2 separate regions of the Homo sapiens genome follow, and region 2 is linked to region 1. Evidence: promoter capture Hi-C in human tissues and cell types (Jung and others, 2019). All regions are on one chromosome and are shown on one strand. The core of a region is centred on a gene start or on the middle of the fragment in contact, and the rest is flanking DNA. Distances in the headings are between cores, read along the strand shown.

The links. Contacts are between HindIII fragments. The study calls those that stand out against the background at their distance.
Region 2: a fragment that was not itself captured here is called in contact with the fragment with the promoter of SLC10A4 in region 1 in 2 of the 25 tissues and cell types used here (IMR-90 fibroblasts and thymus).

Annotation. Positions count from the first base shown.
Region 1 is chr4:48,479,041-48,485,927 of GRCh38, reverse strand. It overlaps SLC10A4 (solute carrier family 10 member 4), which reads right to left and starts at 2,585. Exons shown (of 3, transcript NM_152679.4): 1 at 1,777-2,585; 2 at 786-996. The coding sequence starts at 2,366. RefSeq lists silencers at 2,406-2,535, 2,616-2,665 and a cis regulatory region at 3,920-4,315. The HindIII fragment of the contact is 6,923 bases long and covers 755-6,887 here.
Region 2 is chr4:48,530,432-48,537,318 of GRCh38, reverse strand. FRYL (FRY like transcription coactivator) reads left to right here. Exons shown (of 64, transcript NM_015030.2): 48 at 1,492-1,662; 49 at 2,634-2,774; 50 at 5,966-6,163. Among named protein-coding and RNA genes, the nearest start is that of ZAR1, 44 kb to the right of the region's middle. The HindIII fragment of the contact is 5,937 bases long and covers 1,147-6,887 here.

The sequences.
Region 1 (6,887 bases), core at 1,336-3,835:
TCAACTACTAGAATCTACTAAACTATTAAAATCTCTACTGCTACAGAAAGCATTCATTTTTTAAAAAATCAAAGCCTTAGGAGAAATATTGCACAAATTATAGAAATCCCCTATCTTTTCACTAGCTTTATAAGCCATATAAAATATTGCAATGGAGAAAGAAAAAGAAACACATTTAGTAAGGTCAACATAACCTCCATTATTTATCCAGGACCCAATTTTATTTTGTGCTTTAAAGCCAATATTTTGTGTGTTCTATTACTACAATGTAACTTTTCCATTACTTTTTGTCCTATTAGTATCAACTTACTTTTAAAAATTTAATAAAATGTTAAAGGAACCTACTACAGAGTTTCTCAGAATTAGAGTTCCATTTTTGAAAAGATAGCCATGCATTTCTAAAATACTGCACCAATTCTATTAAAGTAATTTTATTTAATCTGCTTTTATGTTTAATTATATACAATTAGTGGAAAATATGTTGCCATTTAATTACACTGTCATCTTCCCCACCCTGCTATGATCTGTTTCCTTCCAATGAGTACTGATAGTTCTCTTATGCTGGTTTTGATTAAGCTGTGTCTTAATTAAAGCTGTCATTCTAGGAATCCCAAAAGTGGAAGTTATCTTTGTAGCATAAACTTTTTAAAAAAAATTTTATCCATGCAACTACTTCCAAGTCCTTTTCTTCCTTTCCGCCTTCTCCAAACTTCCTAACATTTCTGCTGTGGGTCAGAGATCAAGGGCTCTCCAAGCTAGTATGGAAAGGGAAGAGGGGGCCTTACCTTCACAATGTAGTCAGCCACCCGGCTGTATTTGTAGCGAATGAAGACGCCCAACCCGATAGGTATGAGAGTGCTGCAGAGAGTCAGGGTCACGGTCCCTAGGGGTAGTAACTGCACGATAGGGGTGTTGATCCAAGCCCAGCTGTAGATCCACAGGCACAGGGGCATCAAGACGAGGGCCAGAAGCGTGGAGGAGATGGTCATGATGATGCTGCAGAAAAGGGAATGTGCAGAAATCAGAACGAGCTTTGAGTCAAACAGCCAGCTAACCTTTTTCTTGTATGTTGAGTAGAGGTGGAACGGGGAGACTGCAAGTCCCGGGGTTGAAGTCTGGGCAGAACCTACATCCGAGGAGAGTGCCAAGAGAGCAGCACGTCTAACACCGATGGAATTATGAACCCAAGGCAGGGAGGAAAAACAAGCCCCCTGTCTCGGTACTGCTGCCCTCGACATTATAAAGTCTATTGAGCCTGGATGATTCTGAGGGGAAGGAACGTTCTTCCTTGCAAGCCCCCTGCAAGGTAAGCCATGGTAAAGCTGCTGACTGCTACTTGTTGGTCGGACTCAACAATCCTGCACTCTATGTGAGATTACTTTCTCTGACGGGCCAGTAGCCCTATTTTACTTTTACGTTGCCGGCGAGTTCTAGTTCAGACTCCCCCTTCTCTTTGTCTTCCACTGGACAACGACCTGCGCTGCCACCCCGACGCTCGGGGAGGACGGCGAGGGACCCTGCTGAAGGGCCGCGCTGCGCATGGAATCCCAGCCTTGGAGCAGCTCCCTCGCCGTCTAGCTTGCTCCCCTAGCAGCACAACCTGCAGGTCGGCCTTGACTTCTAAAGCCGGGGCGTCATCAACTTCCTCTCCTTTTCTCCTCCTTCCTCCACGCCTAATTCCAACCCCTCCACTGCCTCTGTCCTTCGTCGTGAGCCCACGGCCGTAAACGCGCGTCTGGGATGAGACAGATGCCCAAGGAATAGACAGATCCGTACCTGAGGTTCATGTCGCCGTCAACCAGCAGGGACATAAGATTGGAGAGATTGCCGCCGGGACAGCAGCCACACAGGAGCACCGCCACGGCGGCCACCTCGTCCAGCTTGAAGGCGAGGGCCAGCAGGAAGGCCAGCAGCGGCAGGAGGCCGAACTGGCAGAGCGCTGCCAGCAGCGCGCCCACGGGCCGACGGACGTGCGCCCCGAAGTGGTTCACGTCCACCGTGCAGCCCAGGCCCAGCATGGTGATGCACAGGGCGGCGCCCACGAACACGTTCAGCCCGTGGTTCAGCGGCGTGTCCCAGAACGGGAGCGCGTGGGGCGCCCAGGGCCGAGGGAACGGGGAAGGGCCGTGGCTCGCCGCGCCGCCCGCGAGGCCGCTGGTCGTGGGCTCCGGGGTCGGAGTGGGGCCGGGGCTGAAGCCGAAGCTCGGACCCGGCCCGAGGCTGAGCCCAGGGCCGGGGCCGGCGCTGGAGGCAGGGGCGAGGGCGAGGTCCGTGCCGGGGCCCAGGCTGCTGGCATTGGGCGCCAGGGTGTAGTTGTCCCGCAGCAGAGGGGCGAAGAGCAGGGTCACGTTGTCGTTGCCGTCCATGGCGCGGCCGGAGCTGCGGATTCCGGTCCCCTCCCGCCGCGTGCCTCTCGCCGTCCCGCGGTCGCCGCAGTCGCCGCCCGTCGTTCTGCCCGTCGGTCTCCGAGCCCCGGCTGCGCGCCGCTGACGTGCTCGGCGGCGTCGGGGGCGGCGGGCCGGTCTCCGCTCCCAGGTCTGCAGCCGCCCGCAGCCTGGCACTCCGCGCAGCGCGGCCCCCCGGGTGAACCCAATCGCTGCGCCGGCTCCGCGCCGCGGCCCCGCGCCCCGCAGGCCCCGCCCCGCCCTGCCGCCCGGTCCCCTCCTGTGAATCGCCAGTAAGTGGTTCTGTTATCGAGTGTAGCCAGGGGCGGAACAAAGACCTGACAAAGGACCAGAGCAGGAAAAAACCGTTCCTGGCTGCCGATCAAGTTCTCTGATGGGCTCTGCCTCTTTATAATGAAATCTGGAGACCCAGACACACAAAGTGGAGGGGGCGGGTGGATAACCTCATCGATGCACGCTCATGGCAGAAACTGTTCCTATAGCCTGCAGCCCTAAGAGGGGTGCTTGACTTAATATGAGCGATTCTCTAGTAAGCAGGACACGATATCTGGCTTGAATTTGCAAACAATTTTTTGCATGATTTTCAGTCTTAAAGTAGAATGTAATAATAATATAGCGGGTTTTGTGCAAGTGCGTGTGCATTATTTCATTCGATTCTTACAGCAAAGCCGTGAGATAGATACCATTTTTACAAGCTCGATTTTTACAAACGAGGAAACTGAGGAACGAGGAATTCTCAGTCTTATCAACCGAACCCACAAGTACCTGGCTGAATCTGCACGGCGATGTGTCCCTAAAGAGGGCAGAGAAGAGCTTGGCTAATAACAATTTCCATGAAAAATGTGTGTTTAAGAAGTTATTGGCAGGTGGAGAGAGGATATTTCAGTGGCCACAGATTTACGAAGCTTTATGAGTAAGGCCCTGGCATTAGGATTAAAGGACTGAAAAGAAATAAAGTGCTGAGATTCCCTGCTTGAGACAGGTTTATCCCAAAACAATTCAAAAGCAGAGCTCTTAGGAATGGAGATGCAACAACTTTTAAGTCAGTCACTAGATGGCATGTAGAAAGGAAAATAATTTCGCTGCTTACCAACCAGGTGGGGCCTGTTAAGGAGGCATCTAGCTCCCTGGGGGTGACCATAAAGTGATAGTCAGTTGAGTTGTAAAAACCAACAGGAATTTCTAGAATGAAATCAAGGCTCAGTCTTAGCCCAGGGTTGCTTTCACAAGGAGCCAAGATATAGTGAATTCTTCTATCTGGGAACTTTTCCCTAACTCCTGTCCTGGCACAGAGTGACTTCTATTACCCAAGGGTGGGCTGAGCCTTTCCTCCTCCCCAAATCTCATGAAGATGATGGAGACTATGAAAAGTAAGACTTTGCAAATGCAAAGCATATTGCACTCTTCATCACAAATAATTTATTTTTTCTCTTTTGGACTGTAAATTCCACGAGGGCAGAGCTTTTGCAAGAATCTAGGAGGATAATGTACCCTTACACTTTTCCAAAACACTAAACCCAGAAAAAAAAACTTCAGTGAGCTAAACTTTAAAGGAAGTGGGTTGTGACCAAAAATATTTTAAGTTGACATGTCACCTTATGTAGGTAAAAAGAAAGATATTCAGATATACAATGATCCATGCTACCCAACCGTTACATTAGTAGACCCAGGGAAGATGTGTGGAGAAACAGACAAGATAAGGAGGGAAGGCACTGCTGAGCCTTCACAGTCTTGAAACCACAGAATGAGATAAGCCAAGAACACAAATGGCAAGGGATCCAGCTGAAGCCAACTGTGCAGGCACCACTCCTATTTGCCTCAGAAACCCTCATCATGTTAATGATATTAAAATTCACAATCACATTAAATAAGCAGTAATTAGAGGCAGACCAACTCAACTCATCCAACTACCTCCTCTCAGGGTTTAGGGAGGGACTTGGGCGGCAACTTGTGCAATGGGCGAAGACTGAAAACAGAAAGGGGCCTGGCATCATGGCTTTTGTCTGCAATCCCAGCAATTTGGGAGGCTGAGACAGGTGGATCACTTGAAGACAGGAATTCGAGACCAGCCTGGCCAACATGGTGAAACCCCATCTGGACTAAAAAGACAAAAATTAGTTGGGTATGGTGGTGTGTGCCTGTAGTACCAGCTACACAGGAGACTGAGGCAGGAGAATTGCTTGAACCTGGGAGGTGGAGTTTGCAGAGAGCCAAGATCGTGACACTGCACTCTAGCCTGGATGACAGACTGAGACTCCATCTGAAAAAATAAAAAAGAAGGGGATGATGGGCTGCGATTGTAAATCATGGGGCATGTTGCACCTGCAATCTTGGGGGATTCTTGGGACCTACACACCTGATGTCACTCCTGCTGATGGGGTGATTGTCATTGTAAAGAAAACAGGTGCTCTGGCCTCCCCTTCTTTCTCATCTTCCTCACTATGTATGAGAAAACCCCAGGATTAGGTTTAAGCCCATTCTCCAGGTGTGATGACACTGGTGTGGTGACACTGGTGAAGTGAAGTATTCTTTTCCCAAGGGGGAAACAATATGTAAAAGGGAGAGATAACATAGTACTTAGAAAATATGGCCAGGCATGGGGCTCACGCCTATGGGAGGCCAAGGTGGGCAAATCTCTTGAGCCCAGGAACTTGACACCACCCTGGACAACATGGTGAAACCCTGTCTCTACAAAAACTACAAAAATTGGCCAGACATGGTGGCGCATGCCTGTGGTGGCATATGCCTGTGGTACCAGCTATTTGGGAGGCTGAGGTGGGAGGATCGCTTGAGCGCAGGAGGGCAAGGCTGCAGTGAGCCATGACCATGCCACTGTACTCAGGCATGGGTGACAGCAAACCGTGTCAAAAAAAAAAATTAAGGAAGGAAGGAAGATGAAATTAAGCTAGCTATTTGGGGAAAAATAAATTTAGAGCTTTGTGGCACAGTGTATACCAAAGCTAATTCCAAGTAGATTAAAGGGTTAACTATTATAATAATAATAATGCAACAAAATACTAGAGAAAAAGATTGGCAAGTGTTTATCTCATCTTTGGATATGGAAAATTTTTCTAAGCAAAAAAGTAACAGAAGAAATCATAATGGGGAGCTCAGTAGATATGGATACATAAAAACTTTCAACTTTGTTATAGTAAAAACATCATTTAAGAAATTAAGAGAAAATTTATGATTAATTTATAAGTTTTATTGTGTTATTTTATAGGAAAAGAGGCAAATGACATGAATAGACACAAGATCACAAAAGAGATGCAAGCAGCCAACATGTTTATGAAAATAGTCACATTCACTAGTATCCAGAGCAATTAAATTGAAGCAATTAGATGCCATTTTTCAGTACTGGAAAAGATTCAGATATATGCTATTATGTTACAGTGGCAAGGATACAATCAATTTGGATATATCCTACCATAGAAACAATCATGGAAAGAGAGCACCTACTTCCAGGAGTTCTCATAAAAGTCCTGGGGTTAACTTGGGATTAATAAGGGAGAACTATTGTACACTAATGTTTGTTTTGGCCACTTTTCTTGAAAGGAAGCTAGGAGGCTTTTTAAGAGTAGAAGCATTTAAATTTAAAAATTAAATAGAAAATAGGCAAGAGAAGTGTACCCATCCTTCAACCAATCATTGTGGCCATAGGATGGAATGCTTTCACTCAAGCAAGGGAGTGGTCTCATCCCCACTCAAGACACATCAACTCAAATTTGGGGAAGGGATTCCTCAGAGGAATAGTGGGTGCTGTTAACAGAAAGAGGAAAAATGGATGTTGAGTAGGCAGAAAAGCAATAAGCATACACAGAAGTTGTATTCAGTACCTCAGCACCCTCAAAGGTGTTTGAGGGCTTCTTCCATTGCATTTCCAGAAGTAAGTACTGCTACCTTAAGAATCTTTGTCAATATGCTGTTTTAAAAGTTTCATATTTTGTGCTTATTTAACTACTAGTGAAATAGAACTTTTTCAGTTTAATAATAAAAATACTTTATTATAAATTATGTATTTTGCCTATTTACAGAAATCATCTGACTTGCAGACAATTTAAGTACAACGTATAAGACTGGTAGAAGAAAAATTAGAAACAACCTAAGTATCCAACAATATGCAACTGGTTGAGTAAATTGTTTTTTATTTACATAATAGAATAAATACTATGCAACTATTTTAAATTTTCATGTTATATTTTTATGTGAAAAAAGCAAGTTATGTACCGTTTTATGTTGATTTCTTTCTTTTGTATTTTGTTAGAAAAAATTTTTTTAGAGATGTTACATTGTCCAGGCTGGAGTGCAGTGGCTATTCATAGGCATGTAGGCATGGTCATAGCAGACTGCAGGGTGGCTCTTGGCCCCAGTTTCTTTAAAAGTATTTATATAGTTGCATTCAAAAAGACTGGGCCAAAATATATTGGATTATGGAGGATTTTTGCATTCCTTTTTGTTGTCTTTTCTTTTTTCTTGAGACAG
Region 2 (6,887 bases), core at 2,866-5,365, 50 kb before region 1:
AAATCTGTCACTTGTTCTATTATAAAATTGCACAGCAGATATTCCAAGGAATTTTCTCCCTTTTCAAAAAATAAGTTTTTTAAAATCATTCCTTAAAAAAATTATTTAAGAATGTAAGAATTCTCTAAGAATGTTTTATTCTTCAGGAAAGTTTTTTATGTTTTAAAGAATTTAACAACTTGAGAAGTTATAAAATTATGCGATTTTTAATAATATGTTAAATTATTATATTTTGAAATGCAAATAAGAGATACCAACCCATTTTTTCTTTTTCTTTCTGGTGTCTGTTTTATGGGCAAAACACTACTGCATGAAATCAGCTGGTTTTAATGATTGTATAAAATAACTTCCCAGGTACTACTGTGTTAATAGTCTATGCACGACCTTGCATAACCTTTATATTTTGTGCTTGTTCCATGATAATGTCCAAATGATGAATTTGAGGCCCTCCAAGCCTATTAAACATCTTCCGAATTACCAAAATTAGTGATATTCATTTGAAAGTTGAAGATGTATATATTTAAAAGGACAGTTTCTTTACCAAATGCTGTAGGTAGTTGTAAAAATACATACAAAACATCCATAAGATAGAAGAATAAGGAAAAGGAAAACTAAAAGCAGAAATGACAATGAGGTTAGCCTTTTATGACAGATTGGTATGTAAGAGTAGCATGGCCTTTTTCCAGTTCTGCATAGCTCAGGTGTCCCCTGGGAGAGGCCAGGGAACATCCTCACCAATAACCCAGGGAACAAACAGACTAAGAAGTGCATTCAGTCAGTAAAATTCCCCCCAAACATTAGTTGGTTCAGATTCTTTAATATTGTATCAAACAAACATGAGAGTCAGTACATTTTGGAGTAGCCTTTAAAAGATTGGCCGAGGATCTTAGAGCTTTAGGTGATTTCCGGAAGAGCAGTTTGAGGTCCACCATGCAGACTGTCATCCATTGGAGATTCTGGACTCCAGATTTCATCAGAGCCCCAGTGATGTCCTTTGACTGTCACACATGTTGAGGCTGTTTGCAACTGACTGCTCTACTGAGATACCCCGGGCACAGCTGGAGGCTGAAGCATTTCCTCCCAGTCACAGCAGCTCGGAGCCTCCCTGAGAATTCCCTAGTTATATCTGCCTGTGTAGTCACTTGTGCACTGATCCATCCTGGGTTTGACAAAGCAATTCCAAAATGATGTCCCGAGTTCACACCATACATGGTTTCTGCCAGAGACAGTTTACAGATCTTCAGACTGAAGAAGGCCGTACTATTTAGTACCCACAAAGACATTAATCCTCTTTCTGTATTAGCTCTTACTATTCTGTGAAGAATGCCTTGTGCTTTTTTTCTCGTTTCACTTTTCTAACGTATTGAAGTAAAATGCATTAAAACCAATATACATCTAAATTATTTCATTAAGCGAATACATTTAGCATAAAATCAAGTTAAACTTGTGTCTTTATTTTAGGTGAATGAAATAATTTTATTTGTTTTCTAGGTTTGTGCAGAAGAAAAATGCCCAACACTTGTCAATCTGGCACACATGATGAGTTTGTACAGTACACACACGTATTCCAGAGACTGTTCTAACTGGATCAATGTCGTGTGCAGATACCTGCATGACTCCTTCTCAGATACAACATTTAATCTTGTGACTTATCTTGCAGAGGTAAATTTACCAAAAATATTTTCTTATTTACTATATATATATGTGTGTGTGTGTGTGTGTGTGTGTGTGTATGTGTATATATATACACATATATATATTTTAACTACTCTGTGGCACCTTATCAAGTTGATTTATATGCAGAAGCAGCACTGGTATTAACTGATATTCAAATTGTCTGACAGTCAACATAGTTAACAATTTTTTAAGATAAAAATATAAGTTACTTCCTATCAAGTGTAAAAGAAGTTTTTATAAAGGTGGGTTTTTTTTCCATGTCCAGTGTTTATATCCTTATTTACTGTCCTTAAGTGACATGAAACTCAAAATAATATACACTTTACCTAATTAAAAATGGAAAATGGGTTTTTAGTGGTCCTGATCCTAGAGAATGGTTATAATTTTTATTTCTACAAAATTAGGTTTTAGCTTAGAAATCTTTTCTAGAATAATAATTACAGCATACAAAAGTATTTCTTCTGGAAAAGTTTTTAGTTTGATGATACATTTGCTTCCTATCTAAAATATGATTTTGAGACAGCAAAAAATGGATGATAAAGTAGCCCTAGAACAGCACAAAAAGTTAATATCTATTTGATGCCTAAGAAGTAACTTTATACCCAGAAAAGTAAATTACTAAGTAGATAGGCACAAAGAGAAAGTCAAAAGCAAGAGATTCCTAGTCACTAAAAATGTTTGTCAGTTTATAATAAAGTAATACCTACTAAATTAGTTAAGGAAATAAAACACCATGATTTAGATGAAAAGTTATCGTCTAATTCTCCTTTCTGAACCAAGGAAAAATAACAGTAATAGACTCTGCCTTTCACTTTATTAGTCTCTAGATTTCTAATCCACATAACTATAAACTCATAGGCTAAATCTATGTTTTCCAACCTGTCAAATGTAAATATTGAGTTTTTATTCAACCTGATTAAAGTATACTTTAATATTACTTTTAACATTATTTTTAGCTGTTAGAGAAAGGATTGTCCAGTATGCAGCAATCATTACTACAGATTATTTATAGTCTATTGAGTCATATTGACCTGTCTGCAGCCCCAGCCAAGCAGTTTAATCTGGAGATCATAAAGATTATTGGCAAATATGTACAGGTGAGTGACCACAAAACTTACATATAACATTTTTCATCTAAAAATGATTTATAATCACACAATATTGGAAATGCCTTAAATGTCGAAGAATGGGGAAGTGGTTCAACCATAAATCGTGTTTTCAGGATATTTGCAGTATGGAAAATGTTCTCAATGTAAGTGACAAAAACCAGAATCAGAATTAGTATGATTTCTACTTTTCGTATTAACAATTTCTGTAATGTTCTGTAATGACAGGAAGGAATGCATATACACATTGCAGCAGTCAAAACTCTGGAAATTAGGACTGTGACTCATTGGTTGTTTTTGTTTTTGTTTTGAGAAGGAGTCTTGCTCTGTTGCCCAGGCTGGAGTGCAGTGGCGCAGTCTCGGCTCACTGCAGCCTCTGCCTCCTGGATTCAAGTGAGTCTCCTGCCTCAGCCTCCTAAGTAGCTGGGATTACAGGCATGTACCACCACACCCAGCTAATTTTTGTATTTTTAGTAGAGATAGGTTTCACCATGTTGGCCAGGCTGGTCTCGAACTCCTGACCTCAGGTAATCTGCCCACCTCAGCCTCCCAAAGTGCTGGGATTACAGGCGTGAGCCACCGTGCCTGGCCTCATTGTTCTTTCTTTCTTCGTACCTTTCTGTTTTTTAACGAGATTCTACTTAGTGGGCATACACTACTTTTAGAAACAGAAAACCTCTTTGAAGAGTTTGCATTTTAGAGATTTTTTTGTGTGTCTGATAAAAAGTGCCAGATATTTAGAAAGTGGAAAATTAAACTTGATTTAAATGTAAATGATGACAAGTCGGCCTGGTCTTTGCTGAATTTCACCTTTGAAATTCAGTTAAGCTGTCGGTTTGAGCTACCAGTTAAGAAAGCTTTGCATTGCTGAGCAGATCAGTAGGATGGATACAACTCACCAAAGAGAACAAGCTCATTAACAACCTTAATAGATTAATATGTTGTGTTTATACTCCAGTTACGTTTGCATTCACTAGAGCAGAACTTAGAATGGGAAATACTTAGCTGGCAAGGAATTTATTCTAGTTCATATCTGAAAGTAATAAAACTGTAGTAAAATGTTTTCAGTGATTCAGTTATGTAATCCACATTACCTCTTACATTCCCTTGAAAATCAGTGATTGCAGATATCAAAAAAACGGGAGATTTTCTGGTGGCCCTATTTATCTTGTGTCTTATCCTTCAGTGAGTGAGGCTTTACCAGATAGCAGTTATATCTCTTTCTAAAGCACATTTCTCTTTTCTTCTTAAGCCTTAAAAAAAAAAAACTTATAAAATATTTGCTATATTTCACATAGAAACATATACCACATTGAATTCACTACCTTCTGAACCATAGGTACATTTCTTATGTTCAGAACCACAAGCTCAACTTGCCAGTGGACAAGCAGATAACCAGAAGGAGCATAGATTTGTGGCTAAGTGAACTGCACACTCCCCATCTCAAAGGAGAAACACAACTTAGCTTCCTCTGGTGGTTTTCATGTTAGAATATGGGTCCAGTGTGGCAGACTTCTCACTTTAAGAGAAGCTGGAAATCTACATTTTTCTGTAAAATCTCCTGATTTTAAAATGTTGACTCAATTTTTTTTCCAGATTTCTTTATAAATGTGTGAATCAAGATCATATTTAGCTGATGGCTCATCACAGCTGCTGGCTTGTGCTTTATTAAACAACTAAATATTTCACAGAATTGAATTATCGATAGTCTTTTACATTTAAACACAACCAGCAATATAATTTATGAAAACATCCCTAAAGTTTAGCATTTCATGATGCCCAGAGATTGTAATTATTTCTGTCAGAAAAAATATGATGATTATTTCTACTTAGTCATGATTTTGTTAAATATAAACTTTTTTTTGTTTTGTTTTGTTTTTTTTGAGATGGAGTCTCTGTTGCCCAGGCTGAAGTGCAGAGGTGCGATCTTGGCTCACTGCAACCTCCGCCTCCTGGGTTCAAGGATTGTCCTGCCTCAGCCTCCCAAGTAGCTAGAATTAGAGGCACATACCACCATGCCTAGCTGATTTTTGTATTTTTAGTAGAGATGGGGTTTCACCACATTGGCCAGGCCGGTGTCAAACTCCTGACCTCAAGTGGTCTGCCTGCATTGGCCCCCCAAAGTACTGGGATTACAGGCGTGAGCCATTGCTCCCGGCCTTTAAACTACTTTTTACAGTGCTGTTCTTAAAATGTCACAGTATCATGTAGACCTTTTTATTATCAAGTATTTTGTGTTTTAGGTGTCTTCATAGCAAGATGTTATGAACTCAATTGGATAACCCAATTCTGCCAAAGATTTTTTACTTCCTTTTTTGGTGTCTTAATGGTTATTTTTCCTTCCTCAGATATCAGCTGTGAAAGAATATGTATAATATAATACAAGGTTGAGATGTGATTTTTGGTACCATAAGTAAGAAGTAGTTTTTTCTATGTATCCTTTTCAGTGGGTGGTAAAAGAAAGATATTATAAAGTCTTTATCAAACATTCACTGTTCTCTACATATACATCTAGCTCATAAATAATTCCTAGATTTCATTGGTAGGAATATACAAAACTAAGACAAGCAGAAAAATTTTTTTAAAATAGCCAAAATATGTAGGGAAGAAAAAAAAACCTCACCCTACACAACTCAGTAATCCCTGAGAACATCACATTAGCATGGTATCTACTCTCAGTATTTGGGGCCTGGGCCATCAAGAAAAAAAGACTTAACTGTATTTTAGTATTTTAATATTTTTATGTCTAAAAAGGAAGGTATTCGTTAAAAAATTTTTATCTGCAAAGACTTAAAATACTTAAATTTTAGAGTCTCAAAGCTATAAACTTCATTCAGCTAAAAGCTGACGTATATACAAATGTTTTGTTTACCACTACTGCCAAGTTACTGTATTAGTCTGTCCAAATTAATGATAATTACAAAGCACTTATTGGGAGAAAAGCAAGATATTTCAGTTGGGTAGCATTATTACACATATGGTATCTGATAAATCTAACAGTACAAATAATAACTTGTGTTTTCTTTCCTTTTGTAACTCAAACCTTTCATTAAGGATCTTCAAAATGAATAATTTTTACAAGTATTTTTGTAGAAATAATATTTTTATGGTGTACAGTAAATTGTTGTTCTTAGTTGAATGTGCATTTGTAACTTTTACGTGTCAATTATTTTTTAAACCAGAGTCCTTACTGGAAGGAAGCCCTTAACATATTAAAGCTGGTGGTGTCACGCTCTGCGAGTCTTGTCGTACCCAGTGATATCCCCAAGACCTATGGAGGAGATACAGGTTCTCCTGAAATATCCTTCACTAAAATTTTTAATAATGTTTCTAAGGAGTTGCCTGGGAAGACCTTAGATTTTCATTTTGATATATCTGAGGTAAGATGCTCAGAAATTGATGAAGTTACTCTACTAGGAATTTTCATTTGTTTATTTATTCATTCTTTGATTTAACAAACATTGATTGAGCTCATACCCAGTGTTAGACAATATGATAGCTGTTATGAACAACCAAGTGGGGATGGGGAGAAGGCCTGCTGTTAGAAAGCTTACTGTCTGTTAGAGAAACAGACTATACATTCCCCATCTAAAAGAAACGCCACAACTTAGCTTCCCAACAGTGTTTAGCTTAACAACTAAACATAGTAATCAACACTCGGCTGGAATACATTAAAAGTGCTAGGGGAGTATGTAGCATCTATCTAAAGGAGTGGTTTCAGAAAGGAACCAACATCTGAGCTGAGTGTTGAAAGACAAGTAATTCTAGACAGGCATCTATGGCAGTTTGGGGAGGGGAGGTTAAATGCAAAGAAATGGAGAATGTGTGAATGAAGGCTTGTAAGCGTGAGAAAGCATGGTGTTCCAGACACTTCCAACTAGTACCGCCTACCTTGGGCACAGAGTTCAAAAAAATGCAAGTAGAGTGTGATGAGACATGAGGCTGAAGGCATAGGAAGGGGCAAGATCATGGGGATCTTGCATTTCATAGTAACAAACTGGTTTTATCTAAACCAGTAGGAGCTCTTAAAGGATTTTTAGTTGGCGTATTAGGGTTTGCATTTTAGGAGGATCACTCTAGCCACAGGATAGAAAATAGAGCAGG